Regions from separate parts of the Homo sapiens genome. Here all the other regions are linked to region 3. Evidence: promoter capture Hi-C in 16 types of primary human blood cells and fetal thymus (Javierre and others, 2016). All regions are on one chromosome and are shown on one strand. Each heading gives the region's core, a stretch centred on a gene start or on the middle of the fragment in contact. The rest is flanking DNA. Distances are from core to core; before and after follow the strand shown. Region 1 holds the start of CLNS1A (chloride nucleotide-sensitive channel 1A). Region 2 overlaps AQP11 (aquaporin 11). Region 3 holds the start of GDPD4 (glycerophosphodiester phosphodiesterase domain containing 4).

What was found. Contacts are between HindIII fragments. The CHiCAGO score rates a contact against its expected background, and 5 or more counts as called.
Region 1: a contact is called between the fragment with the promoter of CLNS1A here and the fragment with the promoter of GDPD4 in region 3, in 2 of 17 cell types (neutrophils and M0 macrophages). The highest score is 9.2, in neutrophils.
Region 2: a fragment that was not itself captured here is called in contact with the fragment with the promoter of GDPD4 in region 3 in 3 of 17 cell types (M2 macrophages, M1 macrophages and neutrophils); the score reaches 5.8 in M2 macrophages.

What each region holds. Positions count from the first base shown.
Region 1 is chr11:77,635,858-77,639,303 of GRCh38, reverse strand. CLNS1A (chloride nucleotide-sensitive channel 1A) reads left to right here and starts at 1,510. Exons shown (of 7, transcript NM_001293.3): 1 at 1,510-1,714. The coding sequence starts at 1,590. RefSeq lists enhancers at 1,369-1,608, 1,263-1,782. The HindIII fragment of the contact is 10,516 bases long and covers 1-3,446 here.
Region 2 is chr11:77,593,697-77,597,178 of GRCh38, reverse strand. The region is part of intron 1 of AQP11 (aquaporin 11); the gene reads right to left. Among named protein-coding and RNA genes, the nearest start is that of AQP11, 5.5 kb to the right of the region's middle. RefSeq lists a silencer at 2,768-2,968. The HindIII fragment of the contact is 889 bases long and covers 1,697-2,585 here.
Region 3 is chr11:77,299,887-77,303,347 of GRCh38, reverse strand. GDPD4 (glycerophosphodiester phosphodiesterase domain containing 4) reads left to right here and starts at 1,662. Exons shown (of 17, transcript NM_182833.3): 1 at 1,662-1,743. The HindIII fragment of the contact is 12,830 bases long and covers 1-3,461 here.

The sequences.
Region 1 (3,446 bases), core at 261-2,760, 340 kb before region 3:
ATTTATCAAGATGGAAATTGTAACAGAAAAACAGTAATTCACGCAGAGCTGCTGTGCAGGAGACTAGAGTTTGTTGTTGTTGTTTTGAGACGGAGTCTCTCTCTGTCGCCCAGGCTGGAGTGCCAAGGCGCGACCTCGGCTCACTGCAAGCTCCGCCTCTCGGGTTCACGCCATTCTCCCGCTTCAACCTCCCGAGTAGCTGGGACTACAGGCACCTGCCACCACGCCCGGCTAATTTTGTTTTTGTATTTTTAGTCGAGACGGGGTTTCACCGTGTTAGCCAGGCTGGTCTCGATCTCCTGTCCTCGTGATCTGCCCGCCTCGGCCTCCCAAAGTGCTGGGATTACAAGCATGAGCCACTGCACCCGGCCTAGAGTTTTATTTTTACTCAAATCAGTTTCCCAGAGCATTCAGGGATCAAAGTTTTTTTGTTTTTTGTTTTTTGTTGTTTTTTTTTTTTTTTTGAGACGGGGTCTCGCTCTGTCGCCCAGGCTGGAGTGCAGTGGCGCTATCTCGGCTCACTGCAAGCTCTGCCTCCCGGGTTCACGCCATTCTCCTGCCTCAGCCTCCCCAGTAGCTGGGACCACAGGCGCCTGCCACCACACCCGGCTAATTTTTTTGTATTTTTAGTAGAGACGGGGTTTCACCATGTTAGCCAGAATGGTCTTGATCTCCTGACCTCGTGATCCGCCCGCCTCGGCCTCCCAAAGTGCTGGGATTACAGGCGTGAGCCACCGCGCCCAGCCAGGGATCCAAGTTTTTAAGGATAATTTGGCAGGTTGGGGAAGGCCAGTGAGTCAAGAGTGCTGATTGGTTGGGTGGGAGATGAAGTCACAGGGAGTTGAAGCTGTCCTCTTGCGCTGAGTCAGTTCCTGGGTTGGTGGGGAGGGGGCACAAGATCACATAGCCAGTTTATCCATCTGGTGGTGCCAGCTGATCCATCAAGTGCAGGGTCTGCAACATATCTCAAGCACCGATCTTAGGTGCAGTTTAGGGAGGGTCAGAATCTTGTAGCTTGCAGCTGTAATTTCTAATCTAAACCATAATTTCTAATCTTGTGGCTGATTTGTTAGTCCTACAAAGGCAGTCCAGTCCCCAGGCAAGAAGGAAGTTTGTTTTGGGAAAAGGCTGTCATCATCTTTGTTTTAAACTTCAAACTGTAAACTAAGTTCCTCCCAAAGTTAGTTCAGCCTATATCCAGCAATGAACAAGGACAGTTTGGAGGTTAGAAACAACATGGATTTGGGTAGGTCAGATCGCTTTCAGTGTCTCAGTTATAATTTTGCAGTGGTGGTTTCACTGTGACAATCCTGAGGGACTTCCCACAGAACCCTCAGTTATTGAAGCCCAAAGCCTCAGAAATGGCGAGGAAGAAGGGGAAGGGTGTTGCGCGGTCAAACTCCACACGTTCTTAGCCGACCTCCGCCGCTTTTCCTAGAATGTCTCATCTCTATGGTCGACGGCGTTCAGATTCCGGGGCAGACTAAGTTGTTCTTCCGGGGTGACTGCCTCTTCCAGGGCGGGCGGTGTGGTGCACGCATTGCTGTGCTCCAACTCCCTCAGGGCCTGTGTTGCCGCACTCTGCTGCTATGAGCTTCCTCAAAAGTTTCCCGCCGCCTGGGCCAGCGGAGGGGCTCCTGCGGCAGCAGCCAGACACTGAGGCTGTGCTGAACGGGAAGGGCCTCGGCACTGGTACCCTTTACATCGCTGAGAGGTAGGGTTCCTGGTCCCCAGCGCTGGCCTCCTGCGCGCCGCCCTCCTCCTTGCTGGAGCAGGCGGTGCGAAGGAGCCGGGCAAGGGGCGGCCTGGAGGCCTGCTGGGAGCGGGGTCTCGTGCCCGACGCCTCAGGGATACCTGTAGCGGGTGGAAGGCTCGATTTTTCTAGTACTCCTCCGGAGTCTTCCATTCTCTGTTTTCTCCGGCCGGAATTTCCCCTTATGGATTGTGCTTTTTTTTTTTTTTTTTCTTTTTTTCCTCTTTCTCTTTCTCTGTCTCTTTCTCTCTTTCTTTCTTCTTCTTTTCTTTCTTTCTTTCTTTTATTTTCTTTTTTTTTTTTTTTTAACTCGCCTATTTACTGGAGGTCTGGCGCGTGCGTTGCCCTTAACGCACGGTCTGGTTTTAAGGGTCTGAAGTGTGCCTGTCTTTCCGGATGAACAGATGCAGGAGATGTTCCCCTCTCTGGGATACGTAGTTTCAGAGCCGACTGTGGAGGACTTTTAAAGTTTGGTTACACAATAAAGATTTTCTTCTGTAGGTATAGTAAGGAGAGGAACACCCTTAACTCGACACAGACAGGGGTCATATGCAGAGGGACCAGACTCCCGTTTTGGGGTCCTGGAAGGAATTGCCCTTTTATTTGGCCACGTGGAGCACTTTGGTATTTTGACAGTCAGATAGATCTACCGTAAATATTGTGGTTGTAGAACAGAGGTCCCTGTTTCCTTGACATGCAGTTTTCTTTATTTTGAAGCCTGTAATGACACATCGAATCTTTCCTGCCCTTCAGATATGTGTTGCTTCCCCTTTTGCTCCATCACTTGTCTACAGCCAGAGAAAATTCTCTACTTTTAAGAGCTCATGTGATTACTTTGGAACCACCTGTAAAATCCAGGATAATCTCCCTATGTTACTGTCGACTGGTAACCTTAATTACGTTTGTGAAGTCCCTTTTGCTGTGTAATATAACATATTCACCCGCATGACACCAGAAAGTGAAGGTCGTGGGGCCAAAATTCTGCCTACTACAGAATCCAGAGCACAAAAACTGTAAAGAACCTCTGCTTTAAAGGGAAATTTAGACATTGAACAAGGTTTAGGCTTCAGGCCAGAAACTGAGATAGGACATATGGATGGGAGGAAAAGCAAGATTGAGGTGAGAGGCAGATAATGAGTTTGGTCAGGACATGTGTGGAGTAGTTGTACATATGACCGTGTTGGGCCGGGCGCGGTGGCTCACACCTGTAATCCCAGCACTTTGGGAGGCTGAGGCAGGCAGATCGCTTGAGCCCAGGAGTTTGAGATCAGCCTGGGCAGCATGGCGAAACCCAGTCTCTACAAAAAATACAAAAATTAGCCAGGCATGGTGGCGGCCTGTAGTCCTAGCTACTCAGGAAACTGAGGTGGGAGGATCACCTGAGCCCAGGAGGTCGAGGCTGCGGTGAGCCGTGATTGTGCCCCTGCACTCCAGCCTGCATGACAGAGTGAGACCCTGTCTCAAAAAAAAAATAAAAATAAAAAAAGAATGTGTATCTTGGGAAAGTGGTATTAAAGAGAGATGTTTGGAGGTCGTTAAAGTGTTAGTGTATACTCATGGAAATGGATTAGATATCTCAGAAGAGAAGAGGACCAAGTGTAGAACCCTAGGGATACGCCGACGGGTGGGTCATGAAAGAAGAAACTTGAGAAAGGAGGAAGGAGCAGTCAAAACAAAATGTGAAGAGCATATA
Region 2 (3,482 bases), core at 892-3,391, 290 kb before region 3:
ATGGACAAATTTCGTTATAAAAGTTACAACTTACATTTTCCTGAATTTATCCCAAAAGGAGTTGTGAGCAATAAAACTGATCAAATTATATGCAAAAATGATCAAATTATACTGGAAGCCTGTTAGAAATATAGAGGGAAATAATAATAATAAATAATAATTATTTCCCAAGTACTTCGTGTATGGCAGGTACTATGCTACAAACTTGAATTATTATTCCTCATACTAGTCTTATGAAATTTCTTCATTTTAGAGATGAGGAAAGTGAGGCCCAAAATAAGTATTCAGCCTAAGGGCACAGTCTTTTTTTTTTTAAATTGAAACAAGATCTCACTCTTTCACCCAGGCTGGAATGCAGTGATGAAATCATGGCTCAATACAGCCTCAAACTTCAGGGCTCAAGCAGTCTTACTGTCTCAGCCTCTTAAGTAGCTAAGACTACAGGCGTGCACCACCATACCTGGCTAATTTTAAAATTTTTTTGTAGAGACAGGGTCTTGCTATGTTGCCCAGACTGGTCTCAAACTGCTGGCCTCATGCAGTCCTCCTGTCTTGACGTCCCGGTCCTGGGATTACAGACATGAGCCACCATACCTGGCCTTAACCATTACATACATATATATATATATATATATATATATTTACATATATATTTACATATATATTTACACATATATATTTACACATATATTTACACATATATATTTACATATATATATATATTTTTTTTTTTTAATTGAGACATAGTCTCGCTCTGTTGCCCAGGCTGGAGTGCACTGGTGTGATATCAGCTCGCTGCAACCTCCGCCTCCCAGGTTCAAGCAATTCTACTGCCTCAGCCTCCCAAGCAGCTGGGATTACAGGCGCCCGCCACCATGCCAGGCTCATTTTTGTATTTTTAGGAGAGATGGGGCTTTACCATGTTGGCGTTGAATTGGTTAAAGAATAGTAGAGTAGTGACGATAATGAATAGGCTGTGGGTGGTCATGTTGATTCAGATTATGAATCAACAGGCTGGTCTTGAACTCCTGAACTCAGGTGATCCGCCCGCCTCCGTCTCCCAAAGTGCTGGGATTATAGGCATGAACCACTACACCTGGCCTTAACCACTATATTATACTGGCATAACAAAATAAATTTTGGACCTTTGAAGGTGTTTTTCATTTGTAAATTGATAATAGCTCCTATTTAAAAAGAACATATGTTCCCTTCTCTCTTTTTTTTTTGACACTGAGTCTTGCTCTGTTGCTCAGGCTGAAGTGCAGTGGCATGATCTTGGCTCACAGCAACCTCCGCCTCCAGGGCTCAGGGGATCCTCCCACCTCCACCTCCCGGGTTCAAGCGATTCTCCTGCCTCAGCCTCCCAAGTAGCTGGGATTACAGGTGCCCACCACCATACCCAGCTAATTTTGTATTTTTAGTAGAGACAGGGTTTCTCCATGTTGGTCAGGCTGGTCTCGAACTCCCGACCTCAGGTGATCCGCCTGCCTCTGCCTCCCAAAGTGCTGGGATTACAGGCGTGAGCCATCCTGCCCGGCCATATTATTTCTTCCTGTACAGTTTTTTAGAGTAAACAGACTATTTGCTAGTTCGTTCACTTATTCTAAAAATACATTTACTTTGTACCAGGTCCTATGCTAAGATCTTGATATATGTTATGACAAATAAAACAAATGTGGTCTACAGACTCAAAGCTTGTCATCTGGTAGAGGAAAACAGGCATTGTGTCAGAAAACAATATAATTTAAAATTCTATGAAAGAAATGAGCAGTATGTGGTAATAAAGACAACTGACGTGTAAAATAACAGATGTTTTTCTTTCTTTTTTTCTTTTTTTGAGATGGAGTTTTGCTCTTGTTGCCCAGGCTGGAGTGCAATGGCACGACCTCAGCTCACTGCAACCTCTGCCTCCCAGGTTCAAGCGATTCTCCTGTCTCTGCCTCCTGAGTAGCTGGGATTACAGGCATGCGCAAGCATGCCCAGCTAATTTTGTATTTTTAGTAGAGGTGGGGTTTCTCCATGTTGGTCAGGCTGGTCTCAAACTCCTGACCTCAGGTGATCCACCCACTTCGGCCTCCCAAAGTGCTGAGATTACAGGCGTGAGCCACCACACCCGGCCCAGGTGTTTTTCAATATCTAATTATGCATAAAAAATGAATGCAGCTCTCTCTCAAACTGTTCATTGAACTAAATTCTTCCAGAACCCAAAGTAAGGAAGATTTGCTTGAAATCTGATTAACAGTTTATAGCTCTAATATGTTAATAAATCGCACAGCTTTTTTTTTTTTTACACGATTAGGGGAGCCAGTTAATACACGATAAATGGCAATGACATAACTGGGGCTCCATGTGCCATCAAAATTTGGGGTGCTAAATCAATAAATACACAGACACTTGGTCACTGGCTATCCTTAGGAGCCTGTGGCTATGTTGCTGGATGCTTATGTTCTGTAATCCTAAAATACATAAGTTATTTTGATGTACCCTGTATTGGTGACTTCTCAGTGCCCTCAAAATGCAAGTGATTAAAGAAATCTCCCAAGGTGCACCTTTGTCAAATCTGTACTTGTAGTATCCTAGAAGCTTAAAAAAGACATATCATAATAACTTGTAATGATGCCTGACTTAGCCAACTGTCCCAAGACAGTCCTATTTGTAACAACTCTGTTCCAAAGTTATGACTTATAGCCATAGAAAATAAAAGGGAGAGATGGGACTTAGTGCAGCATTTCCCAAAGTATGTTCTCTTCTGCTACACACTCCTAGACAAGAGGATCTCGTAAGTTTGAAAAACTGTGCTCCAAATCCTCCTCTTGGAGTTTCACAATACTTAGAAGCATAGTAAAGGCTCTATGAAGTCTTAAAATTAGAAAACCTGTTTAATCCAGTGTCTGCCAAATTTATTTGGCAACAACATCATTTTGTAACTTAAAAATTGTATAAATTATGGTGAAATATATATATACCATAAAGTATGCCATTTTAGCCATTTTTAAGTGTATAAGTCATTGGTGTTACATTCACCATGCTGTTTCACCAGCAGCACCATTTCCAAAGGTTTTCATAACATAAACAGAAACTTTGTACCCATTAAACAATAAGTCCCCATTCCTCCCTCCTCCCCACAGTCCCTGGTAACTCTATTCTACTTTCTGTCTCTATGAAGTTGCCTAATCTAGATATTTTGTATATGTAGAGCCATACAGTATTTGTCTTTTTGTGTCTGGCTTATTTTGCTTGGCATATTGTTTTTGAGGTTCATTCATGTTGTAGTATACATCATAACTTCATTCCTTTTTATGGCTGAATATATTCAATTGTGTATAGTTTTGTTAACTTTTGAGGAGCACACTGTGGAAATGCTGATAATGAATCCGTATGAGCTTTAGTGCCAGTTGGAACCATAGTTCTAACACAGTCTAGTTATGTAAGCTTAGATAAGTCATTTCACTTTTCTGGGCCTCACTTACTTTACTTAAAAT
Region 3 (3,461 bases), core at 413-2,912:
ATTTGCATTTTTAAAAGATCAACAGTTGGTCTTAGATTTTGGGAGAGGTAAACTGGAAACAGTGAGGCGCTTTGGGAGTCTGCTGCAGTCTACCTTAACGTAGCGGTATTAAGCTGGGTTGGCATGTACTGAGATGATTAGGGCCTAGTGGGCATTGAAATGCAATAAGATAATGACTAGGCGAAATAGGAAGTATCCTAATAAGCAGAATTTGGTCACTCTGTGTAAGGTGGAGGGTTGGGGGGTTGCAAAGGAATAGGAGGAGTTGAGGATGAGACATCTGTTTCACATCTTGTCATTTAGTGATTTAGAGCCATAGAAGATGGAGCAGACATGAAGGGAAAGATAATGAATTTAAGTTAGGGTTTACTGAGTTTGAGGTGTCTGCAGCAGGACGGCCAGATTGAAGGCCAGTGGCTGGCAGTTGGAGATAAAGGTCTAGAGCTCAGGAACGAGGTCAGAGTCAGAGAAATGGCTAGAGGAATCAAAGATTAAACAAACAAAAGCGAAAACAGGCCCATTTGTGGCCCTTTGAGTGGTTGAAACTGGTTTAAAAAAGGTAAGGCAAAGTGGGGATGGTTACTGGGTACAACAGATATATAGTTAGAATAAATAGGATCTAATATTTGACAGCACAACAAGGCGACTACAGTCAGCAATTATTTATTGAACATTTTTAAAAATAACTAAGAGTGTAACTGGAACGTTCATAACCCAAAGAAATGATAAATGCTTAGGTGATGGATACTCAGTGTACCTGATGTGATTCTTTTTTTTTTTTAGATGGAGTTTCACTCTTGTTGCCCAGGTTGGAGTGCAGTGGTGCTATCTCGGCTCACTACAACCTCTGCCTCCCAGGTTCAAGTGATTCTCCTGCCTCAGCCTCCTGAGTAGCTGGGATTACAGGAATCCACCACTGTGCCCGGCTAATTTTTTTGTATTTTAGTAGAGACAGGGTTTCATCATGTTGGCCTGGCTGGTCTCGAACTCCTGACCTCAGGTGATCCACCTGCCTCGGCCTCCCAAACTGCTGGGATTACAGGCGTGAGCCACTGTGCCTGGCCTCCTGATGTGATTCTTACACATTGTATACCTTTATCAGAATATCTCATGTATTCCTACTATGAGTTGTATAAATAATACACTTATTATGTACCCATAAAAATTAAAAATTTGTTTTAAAAAGGCAGAAAAAATAGTTAAAAATAAAATAAAATAAAGAGGTAGCCTGGGCGTGGTGGCTGGGGGGCACAGGGCTGTAGTCCCAGCTACTCTTCAGGCTGAGGCAGGAGGCTGCTTGAGCCCAAGTTTGAGGCCCAGACTGGGCGACAAGACCCCGTCTCTTAAAAAATATATAAATATATAGATAGATGTATATATATATATGGCAATTTTATGAATAACTGGGATACAAAAAATTGGTAATGCTTGAACTAAGTTATTAACAAGGACTAAACTTAAACAGTCAAGTTCTTTTTGTAAGAACCAAACCAAACCAAAAACAAAGAGAGCATACCTTACCGGACATTTAAAAGGTGGGGCTCTGAGCCAAGGCTGGGGGTCTGGCCTTAGCTTCAGCCTTGCTCTGGCACGGGGTGTCCTTGACCACGCCCACAGCCCCGCCAGGCCGCCCCCTCCCGCCCCGCCTCCCTCGGGCTGCCCTTCCAGCCAGGCGTCCATCTTAAGAGACGCTGGTCTCCTCAGGCGTGAAGATTGGATTTGGGTTGGGACTGGGAAGTCTCGGTAAGTAAATGTGCCCAGTTCCGTGCTTCCTCCCTAAGCAGCACCAGAAGCAGGAAGTTCTATTAGTATTATTAGTCGGCGGCCAAACTTGAGGCCCTTTGACGTTGTTCGCTCACTCTGTCGGGTCGTTTGTGTCCCCTCTCGAGGATTACGGGCCTGGACCTCCTGTTCAGTATCTGACAGTAGCGGCTTCGTGTATTTTCTAGTTTTCTAGTTGTTAATGGCGAAGGGGATAAAAATCAGCTTCGACTATGCCAATCCTGGGCGGCAACCCTTGGGTTTTGATCTCATGAGCTGGGGAATGGCGGTGACCTTTACTGAGATGGGACAGATTGCAGGAGGAATCGATTTTAGAGGGAAAAAACATCAGGGGTTCAGTTTTGGACATATTACTTTTGAGGTGCCTGTGAGAAATCCAAATGGAGATTTCAGTAGCCTGTCGGATATATGAGTGTAGAATTCAGAGAAGAGCTCTGGGAAGGAAACAGTGTTTCTCGATCTCCCCTTAAATATTAGGAATTTTCATGTAAACGTGGCTACGCTGGCTGGTGCTTAGACACAAAGTATCTGCAGGTGTGTAGACAATGGTGGTGGTAATTATTCTGGTTAAAAAGCTGCCTTTTATTCGATATCCAAGCAGCTTACCATCCTCCCATAGAGCTTTTTGTTCATAACGTCTGCCCTTGGACACCCCAGTATTTGCAATTAGTCACACCAAGTTCTATATATATGCAGTAGTTTCATCATTAACCAACTGAAAGTTTTTTTCTCATTTCCATTGTGATTTTTCTTTGACCATGCGTAGGTTTCTGTGTGTTTAATTCCCAAATGTGCAATTTGTTTTTCTTACTGATTTCCAGTTAAATTGCACTGTAGTCAGAAGATATATTCTTAAGATGTCAAGGTTTATTAAAACCAATTGTGATTTTTGATAAATATTCCATGTCCATTTTAAAGTACACTCTGCATTTGTTGAGTACAGTGTTCTATAAATGTTAAGACTAGTTAATCAACTTTTACAGTCGTCTATATCCTTACAGACTTTTTTTCTGCTTATTCTGTTTTTTTTTTAAGAGGTGTGTTAAATCTCCTACCATGATTATGCATTTGTCCATTTCTCCCTTAGAGACTAGGTGATTGGGTACTGTTATAGTTTCGGTGCCGCAAAAGAAATAGCACTCAAATATAAAATTTTCTTTTTAATTCTTAGCAAGGCAATATACTTCTATAGAAGGGTGCACCCTTACATATGGAGCAATGGTGAGCACACACTTGGACAAGGGAGGGGAAGGGGTTCTTATTCCTGACACACGTGGCCCCTGCTGCTGTGTCGTTCCCCTATTGGCTAGTGTTAGACCGCACAGGCTAAACTAATTCCAATTGGCTAATTTAGAGAGAGTGACGGGGTGAGTGGTTTGGCGGGAGTGAGGGTGGAGCAGGTGATCAGGATGAGTCAGGGCAGAGCTGGTAATCAGAATGAGTCAGGATGGAGCAGGTGATCAAAAAAGGTTGCTTTACGAGGAAGTTTAAAAGTAGAAGGCAAAGAATTGAACATACTGACATATTGATTCTTTGAAGAGAAATTTAGAACTCATATCTAATAGTACTTACAAATTGCAAATTAAAATTTTTGTTTTTTCACATTATGAAATGTCCCTCTTTGTCTCTAGTATTGCTTTTATGCCTCATAGTTTACTTTGCTTGTCATATAGAGAGGT